3 separate regions of the Homo sapiens genome follow, and all the other regions are linked to region 3. The links are contacts of gene promoters, found by promoter capture Hi-C in blood cells and fetal thymus (Javierre and others, 2016). All regions are on one chromosome and are shown on one strand. Each heading gives the region's core, a stretch centred on a gene start or on the middle of the fragment in contact. The rest is flanking DNA. Distances are from core to core; before and after follow the strand shown. Region 1 holds the start of KCNQ2 (potassium voltage-gated channel subfamily Q member 2). Region 2 holds the start of EEF1A2 (eukaryotic translation elongation factor 1 alpha 2). Region 3 holds the start of ABHD16B (abhydrolase domain containing 16B).

Evidence for each region. Contacts are between HindIII fragments. The CHiCAGO score rates a contact against its expected background, and 5 or more counts as called.
Region 1: the fragment with the promoter of KCNQ2 here is called in contact with the fragment with the promoter of ABHD16B in region 3 in 1 of 17 cell types (activated CD4 T cells); the score reaches 5.7 in activated CD4 T cells.
Region 2: a contact is called between the fragment with the promoter of EEF1A2 here and the fragment with the promoter of ABHD16B in region 3, in 3 of 17 cell types (total B cells, naive B cells and erythroblasts). The highest score is 7.3, in total B cells.

What each region holds. Positions count from the first base shown.
Region 1 is chr20:63,471,238-63,474,777 of GRCh38, forward strand. It overlaps KCNQ2 (potassium voltage-gated channel subfamily Q member 2), which reads right to left and starts at 1,418. Exons shown (of 17, transcript NM_172107.4): 1 at 931-1,418. The coding sequence starts at 1,226. The HindIII fragment of the contact is 3,283 bases long and covers 1-2,953 here.
Region 2 is chr20:63,497,669-63,501,312 of GRCh38, forward strand. It overlaps EEF1A2 (eukaryotic translation elongation factor 1 alpha 2), which reads right to left and starts at 1,415. Exons shown (of 8, transcript NM_001958.5): 1 at 1,390-1,415; 2 at 1-166. The coding sequence starts at 95. LOC124904955 (a long non-coding RNA gene) reads left to right here and starts at 614. Exons shown (of 2, transcript XR_007067719.1): 1 at 614-955. RefSeq lists enhancers at 424-1,219, 1,480-2,049. The HindIII fragment of the contact is 27,651 bases long and covers 1-3,644 here.
Region 3 is chr20:63,859,312-63,862,787 of GRCh38, forward strand. ABHD16B (abhydrolase domain containing 16B) reads left to right here and starts at 2,187. Exons shown (of 1, transcript NM_080622.4): 1 at 2,187-3,476. The coding sequence starts at 2,230. ABHD16B-AS1 (ABHD16B antisense RNA 1) reads right to left here. Exons shown (of 2, transcript NR_165314.1): 2 at 1,904-3,476. The HindIII fragment of the contact is 10,144 bases long and covers 1-3,476 here.

The DNA of each region.
Region 1 (3,540 bases), core at 168-2,667, 390 kb before region 3:
GCGCCCTGGCGCGGGGAGGCTGTGCACACCGGCCGCACAGGCCGCACACGCAGCGGGCCGTGCAATTCCACATGCGAACACCCAGGTGCACACGGACGCAGGCTTCGGCCGCCCCCCGCCAGCCCTGCCCCAGGAGGCAGCCGTTCCCTGAGCCTCGCCCGGGAAGAGGGGACAGCCCCTTCCAGGCCCAGGGCTGGGGGTCCCAGGTCTGCCGCAGCCCCTCCCCCGGGCCTCGCTCTGCCAAGGAGGGGTCCTGAGCCCGGGATGTGCACGGGGGCGGCCGGCGGCTGCAGAGATGGGACAGCGCAGGAGCTGAGCGCAGGAGCTGAGGGGGTTCGCGGGGCCAGGGAGGGGCGTCGGCGCCGAGGGGGCAGGACAGACAGCTGCGCTCAGCCCGGGCTGGGGTGGGGGGGTCATGGGAGGGCCCCTCCCCCATCTCAGGAACCCAGAAGCTCACCCTAGTCTGAGGGAGAGCGGCTCGGGAGGATGGCGGAGGACAGGCCAGACCCCTCCCCCCCGCCCTCGCTTGGTCGGGCGGCCCCAGCCCCGCGGGTCCCCGAGAGTCCCGGAGAGTCCAGACCCAGCGCTGCCGCCGTCCCTCCCCGGCCGGCCCTTTGTTCGGCGCAGAGGCCGCGGGGAGGGGCCTCCCAGGCTGAGGAGGGGGCTGGGGCGGCCGCACGTCTCTGTCCTGCGGGCCTGGAGCCCCCACCCCGACCTGAGCGGCCCCGACCCCGGAATCCTTCCTGCCCGCGCGCTGTACAATCGCTCTCCGGTCTCGGCCCAGCACTCCCGCCGGGGAGCGCCGGCCCCGGACCCAGACCCAGGGGCAGGGAGCCAAACCCGCCGCAGCCAGCCTGGCCGGGGTCGCCGATGGGGTCGCCGATGGGGGTCGCCATGGGGGTCGCCACGGGGGCCCCGCCGGCCACTCACACGTAGGCGTGGTAGATGAACGCCCAGCCGCGCGGCCGCTCCAGCACGTTGTAGAGGAAATTCTGCAGCTTGCGGTAGAAGGCGTTGCGCTTGGGGGGCTTCCCGGCGCCCGCGCCGCCCGCGCGAGGTTTGCTGAGGATGCTGCCGCGCTTGGGGGCCTCGGAGCCGGCGATCAGCAGCGCCCCGTCCCGGGTGGAGTCGGGCGCGCCGGGGTCCAGCCCCACGAAGCCCACCTTCAGCTTCTTCTCCCCGCTCGGGCCGGGGTATACGCCGCCGTTGCGCGACTTCTGCACCATGGTGCCTGGCGGGAGGCGCCCCGGGTCGGGCTCAGGCTCAGCGGGGGCGGAGCGCGGGGGGCGGCGCGGGCCCCAGCCCAGGCCCCCCGGCCGGGAGCCGCATGGCCGAGGCGGCGGTTCCGCACTCCTGCCGGGCTTGGGCCGCGCGCGGAGACGCTGCGGCCACCTCGCTCCGCGCGCACCTCGGCGCCTGGCCCGCGGCCGCGCCGGCTCCGCCCGCCGCCTCGCCCCGCCCCGCGTTAACCCCCGCGACGCCAGTCGAAGGAGAGGGGAGGAGAAGAGAGGGAGGGGAAGGGAGGGGAGAGGGAGGGACGGGGAGGGGAGGGGAGGGGGGAAGGAGAGGAGAGGGGAGGAGAGAAGAGGGAAAGGGAGGGGAGGGGAGGGAGAGGGGACGGGGAGAGGGGAGACAGGAGGGGAGGGGGAGGGGAGGAGAGGGGAATGGGAGGGGAGGAGAGTGGCGGGGACGGGGAGAGGGGAGACAGGAGTGGAGGGGGGAGACAGGAGTGGAGGGGGAGGGGAGGGGGGAGAGGAGGGGGAGTGGGGGAGGGGGAGGGGAGGGCAGGGGGAGAGGAGGGGGAGGCAGAAGGGACCAAGGCCCGCGGGACCAGAGCTCTGGGCTGAGCCTGCCCAATCCCCCGGCCATGTGCACACTGACCCTGCGGTCACCTTTGAGTCCGGTAGTACTAACCAAGTGGACCTGCCTGGTGGCCCCAGCGCTCCTGGGGTCCCAGAGCGGTGCCCAGCCGCCTGAGCAGGACTGGAGTCTTCTCAGCTGGGCCCTGGGAGTGGACGCCTCCGGGAAGGGATGGGGGTAGGGGCTCTCCCCAAGACTCTGTTAGGGCTCAGCCCATGGTGACCTCATGCTCTCGGTGTCAGGGTTGCCCAGGCAGTAGGACCCCCTAGACCCCAGGGTGTGTGCAGGGAGGGTCTGTGGAGGCTGGAGGCACCCTGCAAGGAAAGCAGCCCAGGGGAAAGGGGGTGGCCACAGAGGCCGGGAGGCAAGAAGAGGAGCAAGGGCCATGGGGTGGGGGATGGGAGAGAGTCACTCCTAGAGGGCCTTGAAGCCCCCCAAGGGGCCTGGACTTAGTTATGCAGACCCCAGAAGGGGCCTGTGGCAGGGGCAGGGACTGGAGGGTGGCCCCAGGGCAGCAGACAGGCCAGCAGGAAGCCCAGTGCCACACCTCGGGACAAAGGAGGCAGATCTGTGCCTCCTGGACACAGATGGGACGGTGTTTCCTTGGGGGCAAGTGCGCGGAGGTGGCCTCCCCCCTGCCGGCAGCCATGTGTCCTGGGAGGGGTCCCTCTGGAGCTGCTGCTGGGAGACCAAGGGACCCCTGCGGCTCAGTGCTGCCCGCCCTGTGAGGTGCCCCGCCACTGGGCCTTCCTCTGCACATCCAGGAGGGGTGTCATCTTCGAGTGCGTCTCTGACTACATCCAGCCTGTTTGCACGTTCGCCTGGCACCATGGGTTCTACCCAGAGAAAGGCCCTCTGCTGAATCGCTGGCGCCGTCCTCGCAGGTGACCTGCTCATAAAACAGCCCTAACCCTGGTGCAGAGTGAGCTCTTGAGTTGTGTTTGCCCTTTGGTTTCCAGAGCTAGTGGCCACGGGGCCTGTTTTTGTTGTTGTTGTTTTGTTTTTAACTAGGCTGAATACAGAAGGGTCGGTGCAGGCAGAATGCTAACCTGTACGTTATCCAGGACGTTGGGGATAGACGGCAACTTACACAAGCTTGTGCACATCCAGGGGTACTTTCTGGATCCCCGCCTCCCTGCCTCTGTGCCCACGCATTGGCTGTGATTACCAGCATGAAGTGGGCTTGCCCCAAGCGGCTGCGGTTTCTCTCGATTGTTAAGGGAGGAGGCACCAGCCTGGTGCTTTCAGGGGAGGGAGAGGACTTCAGTATGCAGAAGGAAGAGAGCACCGTGGCATCTCCCTGCACACGCTGGCTGGTGCCGCTGGTCTTTCCCACTCACCAGAAGACCCGAGGGAGCAGCCGTAGCTCAAAATGTAAACCCTGCAGGGCTGGGGCCCCTCATCCTGTGGGGGGAAGCCCCAGACTATCCGGTGCCCCTCGGCAGTGCCCGGGCTACACGTGACCTCTCCTGGGCAAGCAGTCATCTCAGGTTTGATGTCAGAGCCCAGTGGGACCCAAGGTCAGGGCTGATCCACAGAGGATGAAGGAAAAGTGACCCCAGTTCCCGTTTGAGCAGATGCACCAGAGCTGAGATGGGAGCAAGGATTAAGGTGCTCTGGTGTCCAGGACATTGGGAGAGACAAACCTGTTCATCTTATTTTTCAGAAAAAAAAGGGGAA
Region 2 (3,644 bases), core at 165-2,664, 360 kb before region 3:
CCGCATTTGTAGATGAGGTGGCCCGTGGTGGTGGACTTTCCGGAGTCCACGTGGCCGATGACCACGATGTTGATGTGGGTCTTCTCCTTGCCCATTTTGCTGGGAGTGTGAGGGGCTGGCGGGACCCGGGGTGCTCTGGCTCAGGGCGAGGGGGGCTGCAGTGATTCTGTGGGGCCAGTGGTGGTGGGGAGACCGGTGATGGGGAGCCCCAGGGGGAGACACCAGCAGAGACTGTCCTGGCACAGGCTGGACAGGCATCCCTGCCCACAAACCAAGCCCCCATGTTTGGTGGGGAGGGAAGGGCCCCCACCCACAGCTGGGCCTGGCCAGGGCAAGCAGAGGCTGTGCACTGCCCCCACCCCACACTTGAGCCCAAACAGCCCCATCTGCTGTAAATAACTGGGCGTTGGAGCCCGCGGGCTGCTCCTTGGGAAGGGGTTAGCCACCATTTGGAGAGACCACGCAGCGCCAGGCTGGGTACGTCCGTGACCAGCAGAGCCGGGTGATGAGTCACCTGCCCAGCGCTCCAGGGCCCTGTCCTGCACGCGCACTCCCCTCCCCGGCGGCAGGGCCAGGGACACGGCGCCCCACCCCCACCCGCTGCCACCGGGGAGAGATGGCCACTGCTCCCCACTCCCCTCCTCAGGCAGGGACGGCGCCATCTTCCCCTCATCCCTGCCCGGCAGGCTGGGCCAGAGCCCCGACGGAGATGCGCTGCCCAGATTAGGAACCCAGAATAGCTCTAGGCACCCCCCTCCCGGACTCTCACAGGGACAGACAGCGGCCGGGAGGTGGGGGTCCCTGTTCCAGCCTGAGGAAGGAGGACCCGGCCCTGCCGAGCCCAGCAAGTGCCAGGTGGAGATGCCCTCGGCCCCGTGGGGGTATAGGGGGCACCCTCCCTCCCCCCCTCCCTGTGACTCAGGACCCTGGGTCACAGCCCTGTCCCATCACAGAGGTCAGTGGAGAAACCCACGCTGCTCCTCGCGGACAGGTGGCTGGGGGAGGGAAAGAGGACAGAAGCCACCCTGGGGTGGGAACACGGGTGGGGGTGGGGAGGCCAGGGCCCCCAGATCTCACCACCTCCCTCAGCGTCCTCTGGCCCAGCGCCCCGAAGCCCGACCCCCATCAGCCCCCGGCCCGCAGGGTCCCCGCGGCCCCAAGGTCACGGCTACGGGGCGATCGCCGCCCAGGACCCGGCCCCGCCGCCCCGCGCCGCCCCCCACCCCGGGCCCAGCCCGGCCGACGCGGGGACCCCCGGAAGCCGGACTCCGGGCGCGCGCGGGGGCGGGTGCGGGGCCCGGCCACCCTCTGCCCCCCAGGACCGGCCCCGGGGGTCCCTCTTCGGAAGACGGGGGCGGGGGCGGAGGCCCGGGGGCCGAGCGTCCTTACCCGGAGCCGAGGTCTCAGCCAGAGGGACTGGCGGCGCCGGCGCCGGCGGTTTTATCTCCGGGAGGGGGTCCACCTATTGACGGTGGCGGCGCAGTGCACCGCGCCCTGCAGCACGCCAATGCGGAACCGCGCGGGAGGGGGCGGGGCGCGGACGCGCGCGGGCGGGCGCCACGGGGACGCGAGGCGATGCGGGAGGCGCGGGCTGCAAAGACGGACGCGGGAGGCGGGGGAGAAACGCGCCGCGGGCGGGGGCGGGGCGGGGGGCAGGGCAGGGAGGCGGCGGGAGGGAGGGACCGGGACGGAGACGGCGCGGGGAGAGCGCGGCGGGCCCGGGAGACGGGGCGAGAGCCGGCTCAGGGCAGGAACACGCTTGAGCCGCGAAAAGCGGTCCCCGGGGACAGGGCAGACGCCGAGGACCGGAGCCGGCAGGCGGGGGAGGGGAGCAGGTGGGCTGCAGCCTGGGAGACGAGCCTGGGTCTACCGGCCCCTCCCCGGCCCTGCTCATGGGGGACGCCCCAGAACCAACGAAGCCCGGCTCTGAGGGGCTCTCCCTAATGAGGCCCGGGGGTGCAGGCCTCAGGGTGGAAATCTGCTGGTTTCCAGTCCCTGTCCTCACGTGCCTGCCCTCCTGGGCGCACCATGACAGGCCCCGAGGATCCAGCGCAGAACCACCCTCCCCCTGAGAGGCTGGTCTCCCACGGTGCAGGGAACGCCGGAAGCCCGCTCCCAGACCCACTGACATCTTCCAGGGACCCTCCCCTCCGGGTGCGCCGACCTCCGGCTGCTGCTGGGAAACAGCGCCAGCCAAGGGCGAGTCAGATCCAGACAGACCCAGGCCCCCCCGCCCAGCGCCCCACCCCGCTGCACCTCAGCGCCTTGTAGCTGATGCTCATATGGGGTCAGGATGCCAAGCCAAAGACCGGGCCACGCTCTGTAGGAAGTGGGGAGTCCCTGAGGTCCTGGCACACGCGGGTAATGACCAACGTGGGTTGTGAGGAAGGGGATGTGGCAGCCATGTGTTGTGTGAAGACCAAGGTTAGGGGCTTTCTCCAGACCCCAAGATCCTGTCGTCTCACCCAGGTATTCAGGTCTTCCCTCCCACGCTGCCCCCCCACCCCCACGCACTCGGATCTTCCTGCCAGCGGGGTCTCGGGAGGTGTGTGCTGAGTGGGGGCAGAGCCCTGGCACCTGTCCTCTCAGCCCTGAGTTCCCACTGGGTGTTGACATGGAGGCCCCGGGTCGGGCCCAGCAGCTGCGACTGGGCAAATCCATGGGGATCCCCAGCGACTGGACCCCTACCTGGCCTGCTGGCAGGTGTGAGGAGGAAGGAAAGGTGGGGGCCCAGGGTCGGGGCCAAACAGTTCTCCCCAGCCTGTGGAGAGGGCCTCTCAGGAGGACCCTGGTCTGTGGCTGCGTCTGCCCCATAGGAGTCCAGGGACTTGGGCTCCTGGGCCACAGGCAGGAGAGGAGGCAGGGAGGGCCTGCTAGGTGCCCCGGCACTTCCGAGTGCTGCCGATGCCGTCAAACAGGAGCCAGGAATAAAAATAACCGCCTGGCAAGAAAGCAAGGCCCGCCCCACCCCACCCAGCTGGTCTCTATATTTAACGCCTCCCCTGCAGCCTGAAGGTTAGGCAGGGATTTGGAAGTGGGCTTGCTGCAGGTGCTCGAGTGGCCCAGGCCGGGGTCCCGGGGATGCCCACCCCACTCCCCCAAGGGATCACCAGGACTCTGGGCTACCTTTTCCAGACACCCCTTCCCCCTCGGCTCCCGGCTCACCCATAGCAGTGCCAGGGGCTCACATGTGCCGTGGGGCCTTGCCACCCACAGGAGTGGCCCCTGAGAGTGGAATGTGGCAACCTCCCCAAAGCACCTGTGTGCTGACTCTGGGCAAGGGTGTCGGTGGCTGCTCCAAAGGGTCTCCCAGGCGCCAGGACACGTTTGGTCCACGGTGTGGCCCCTCGGGGTCCTGGGAGCCACCGACTCAGTTCCGCAGACACTTGGAACACACAGCTAACGGGGCTGCGGTCACAAGGCTAAACACTAACACACTGATGGTTCCGAGCCACCGCGGAGACTGAACAGGACTGAATGGCTACTAACTACGGAATGCTAACTGCTGAATAACGGCAGTGGCCTGACCACGTCCCCAAAGTGCACGAGTTGTAACTTAATCCCCAATGCAACAGTGTTGGGGGCTGGCGCTTTCGGGAAGGAGTCTGGGTCATAAAGGGTTTGCCCTTCCGAATGGATTTGTG
Region 3 (3,476 bases), core at 937-3,436:
AATGGGCCGGTAGCCTTTGGGCCCACAGCCCCAACCTGCCTAGAGTAGGCAGCCGCTGAGTTTATGAAAGAGGCTCCTGGGAAAGGAATCATCTCCCACCCTCTGCAGAAGTTTCCATCCCCACCCCTATCCACCAGGCTCCTTTCCCCACAGGGTCAGGGGTGGACACTTGAGCAGGACCAGAACCACCAATCCCCAGGGGAAGCCTTGCCCATCCCTTGGCTGCAGGGGCAGTACCCTGTGTGTTTCCTCCTGGGGCAGGGCTCCTGTTGCTGCCCAGGACCCAGTGGAAAGGATGGTGTGACAGGTGCACCAGTGGACCCTGAGACACCCTCTTTGTCCTCAGGCTTTGACCAATGAGCACAGTAGCCAATCGGAGATCAAAGCTGGATAACCAGGAAAATCTGGATCTCAACTGTGTGTGTGCCTGGGGGTAGGACTGCCAGATTTAGCAAAACAAAAACAAATTTAAAAACAGGGTATATCTAGACCGGGTGCGGTGGCTCCTGCCTGTAATCCCAGCACTTTGGGAGGCCAAAGCGGGTGATCCACCTGAGGTCAGGAGTTAGAGGCCAGCCTGACCAACGTGGTGAAACCCCATCTCTACTAAAAGTACAAAAAGTTAGCCGGGCATGGTGGCGGGCACCTGTAATCCCAGCTACTTGGGAGGCTGAGGCAGGAGAATTGCTTGAACACCCAGGAGGCAGAGGTTGCAGTGAGCTGAGATTGCACCATTGCACTCCAGCCTGGGCGACAAGAGTGAGACTCCGTCTCAAAAACAAACAAACAAACAAACAGAAAAAACAGGATATCCAGTTAAATTTGAATTTCAGATAAACAATTTTAAAATAATGTCTCAAGCAGAAGTTGGAACATACTTATACCCAAAAAGTATTTGTTTATTTGTAATTCCAATTTAACTGGCATATTATTCTGTATTTTATCTGGCAACCTAGAATGGGGGTAATAGCCCCCCAAATCGCTCCCTTTGTTAATTGGTCCCTGTCTTCTGTCCCCCAACCCCTAAAGGCAGCAGCTGACTCCCCCAACTAGGGGCGGGGCCTGTTAGGGTCAGGCAGTGCCTCTAACCCAGACGCTGAGCAGGAGAGCAGAGAGGGGGTGCTTCAGCCTGAAACTACCCCTTCCCCAGAAGGCTGGGGTCCCAGGCGGGCCTGGCACCTGGGCTCAGAGGCTCTGGCTGGATTTGCCAAACTCCCTGATTGTAGCATGTTTGTTTCTGGTCTGGGGAGCTGTTGAGTACCTGGAGCTGCCCTCTTCCCTGGGGCTCCTCCTGGCAGGCGGCTTCCGACCCTGCCCTCAGGTGGGCTGGCCCTTTCCAGGGCAGGAGAAAAGATACCTCTCCAGAAAAGAGGGAGGCGCAGCCTGGGAGTGGGGGCTCGACCCAGGAGCGAGAAAGAGGAACCCCAGCCAGGCAGGACCCGCCCCAGAAGGTCACTGCTGTTGCTGGCAGCCAGTGAAAAGAGGATCCAGAAAAGGAGAGGGCTTGTTTCTGGTCAGCACCGAAGAAGGAAGGTGTGGAGAGGAGGGGCCGGGCCGAGAGCAAATACCGCCTTTTTGGTGCAGCAGCAGCCCTGTCTCTGACCCCGGCCGTCCTGGGGAGATGAGGTTTAAACCAGCAGACCCTGAAGGGAAACTTGCAGGACCCACAGCAAGCCTGGTACAGGCGGAGGAGGCCTTGCTGTCCCTTTTTGGCCCGTGGGGCTGTCCATCTTAAATTTAAGGAAGAGGGAGGCGGGGTGCAGGGACTCACACCTGTAATCCCAACACTGTGGGAGGTGGAGGCGGGGTGCAGGGACTCACACCTGTAATCCCAACACTGTGGGAGGTGGAGGCGGGAGGATCGCTTGAGCCCAGGGGTTCAAGACCAGCCTAGGCAGCATAGTGAGACCCCATCTCAATTTAATAAATAAATAAGGAAGAAAGAGGGAGACAGTAGCTGCTCAAATCATGGGTGGGAAAGCTGGGCCTGGGAGCGTTTAGCTGGTGGGGTCTTGGCGAAGGCGGGGGACGGGCAGAACCTTGGGTTCATCATCTCTGGGAACCCTTTGTGCACCCATCACCTAGCAACAGGATGCAGCCTTCCCTCCGCCCTGGAAGGCCAGGTCACAAAGGCCATCAGGGCTTGTCCGGGAGCCGGTATCCCCTAAGACTGCCCTGTGCCTCTCGCGGCGATCCCGGCCCAGCGGCTGGGCGTTAGGGCCACCGCTCATGTGCGTCATCTGCTTCGTGAAGGCGCTGGTGCGCGTGTTCAAGATCTACCTGACCGCCAGCTACACCTACCCATTCCGCGGCTGGCCCGTGGCCTTCCGCTGGGATGACGTGCGCGCCGTGGGCCGGAGCAGCAGCCACCGGGCGCTGACCTGCGCGGCAGCCGCGGCGGGCGTGTGGTTGCTGCGGGACGAGACGCTGGGCGGGGATGCGCTGGGGCGGCCTCCACGTGGGGCGCGCAGCCAGGCGCAGTGCCTCTTGCAGCAGCTCCGCGAGCTGCCCGGCCAGCTCGCTAGCTACGCGCTGGCCCACTCGCTGGGCCGCTGGCTCGTGTACCCCGGCTCCGTGTCCCTGATGACGCGCGCGCTGCTGCCGCTGCTGCAGCAGGGCCAAGAGCGCCTCGTGGAGCGCTACCACGGCCGGCGCGCCAAGCTGGTGGCCTGTGACGGCAACGAGATCGACACTATGTTCATGGACCGCCGCCAGCACCCGGGCAGCCACGTGCACGGGCCGCGCCTCGTCATCTGCTGCGAAGGCAACGCGGGCTTCTACGAGATGGGCTGTCTGTCTGCACCGCTCGAGGCCGGCTACTCCGTGCTGGGCTGGAACCACCCCGGCTTCGGCAGCAGCACTGGCGTGCCCTTCCCTCAGCACGACGCCAACGCCATGGACGTGGTGGTCGAGTACGCACTGCACCGCCTGCACTTCCCGCCCGCGCACCTGGTGGTCTACGGCTGGTCTGTTGGCGGCTTCACGGCCACCTGGGCCACCATGACCTACCCGGAGCTGGGTGCACTGGTGCTGGACGCCACCTTCGACGACCTTGTGCCGCTGGCGCTGAAGGTCATGCCCCACAGTTGGAAGGGGCTGGTGGTGCGCACCGTGCGCGAGCACTTCAACCTCAACGTGGCCGAGCAGCTGTGCTGCTACCCGGGGCCGGTGCTGCTGCTCCGACGCACGCAGGATGACGTGGTCAGCACTTCGGGCCGCCTGCGCCCCCTGTCACCTGGTGACGTGGAGGGCAACCGGGGCAATGAGCTGCTGCTGCGCCTGCTGGAGCACCGCTACCCCGTCGTGATGGCGCGAGAGGGCCGCGCCGTCGTCACCCGCTGGCTGCGCGCTGGCAGCTTGGCGCAGGAGGCCGCCTTCTATGCACGCTACCGCGTGGACGAGGACTGGTGCCTGGCGCTGCTGCGCTCCTACCGTGCACGCTGCGAAGAGGAGCTGGAGGGCGAGGAGGCCCTGGG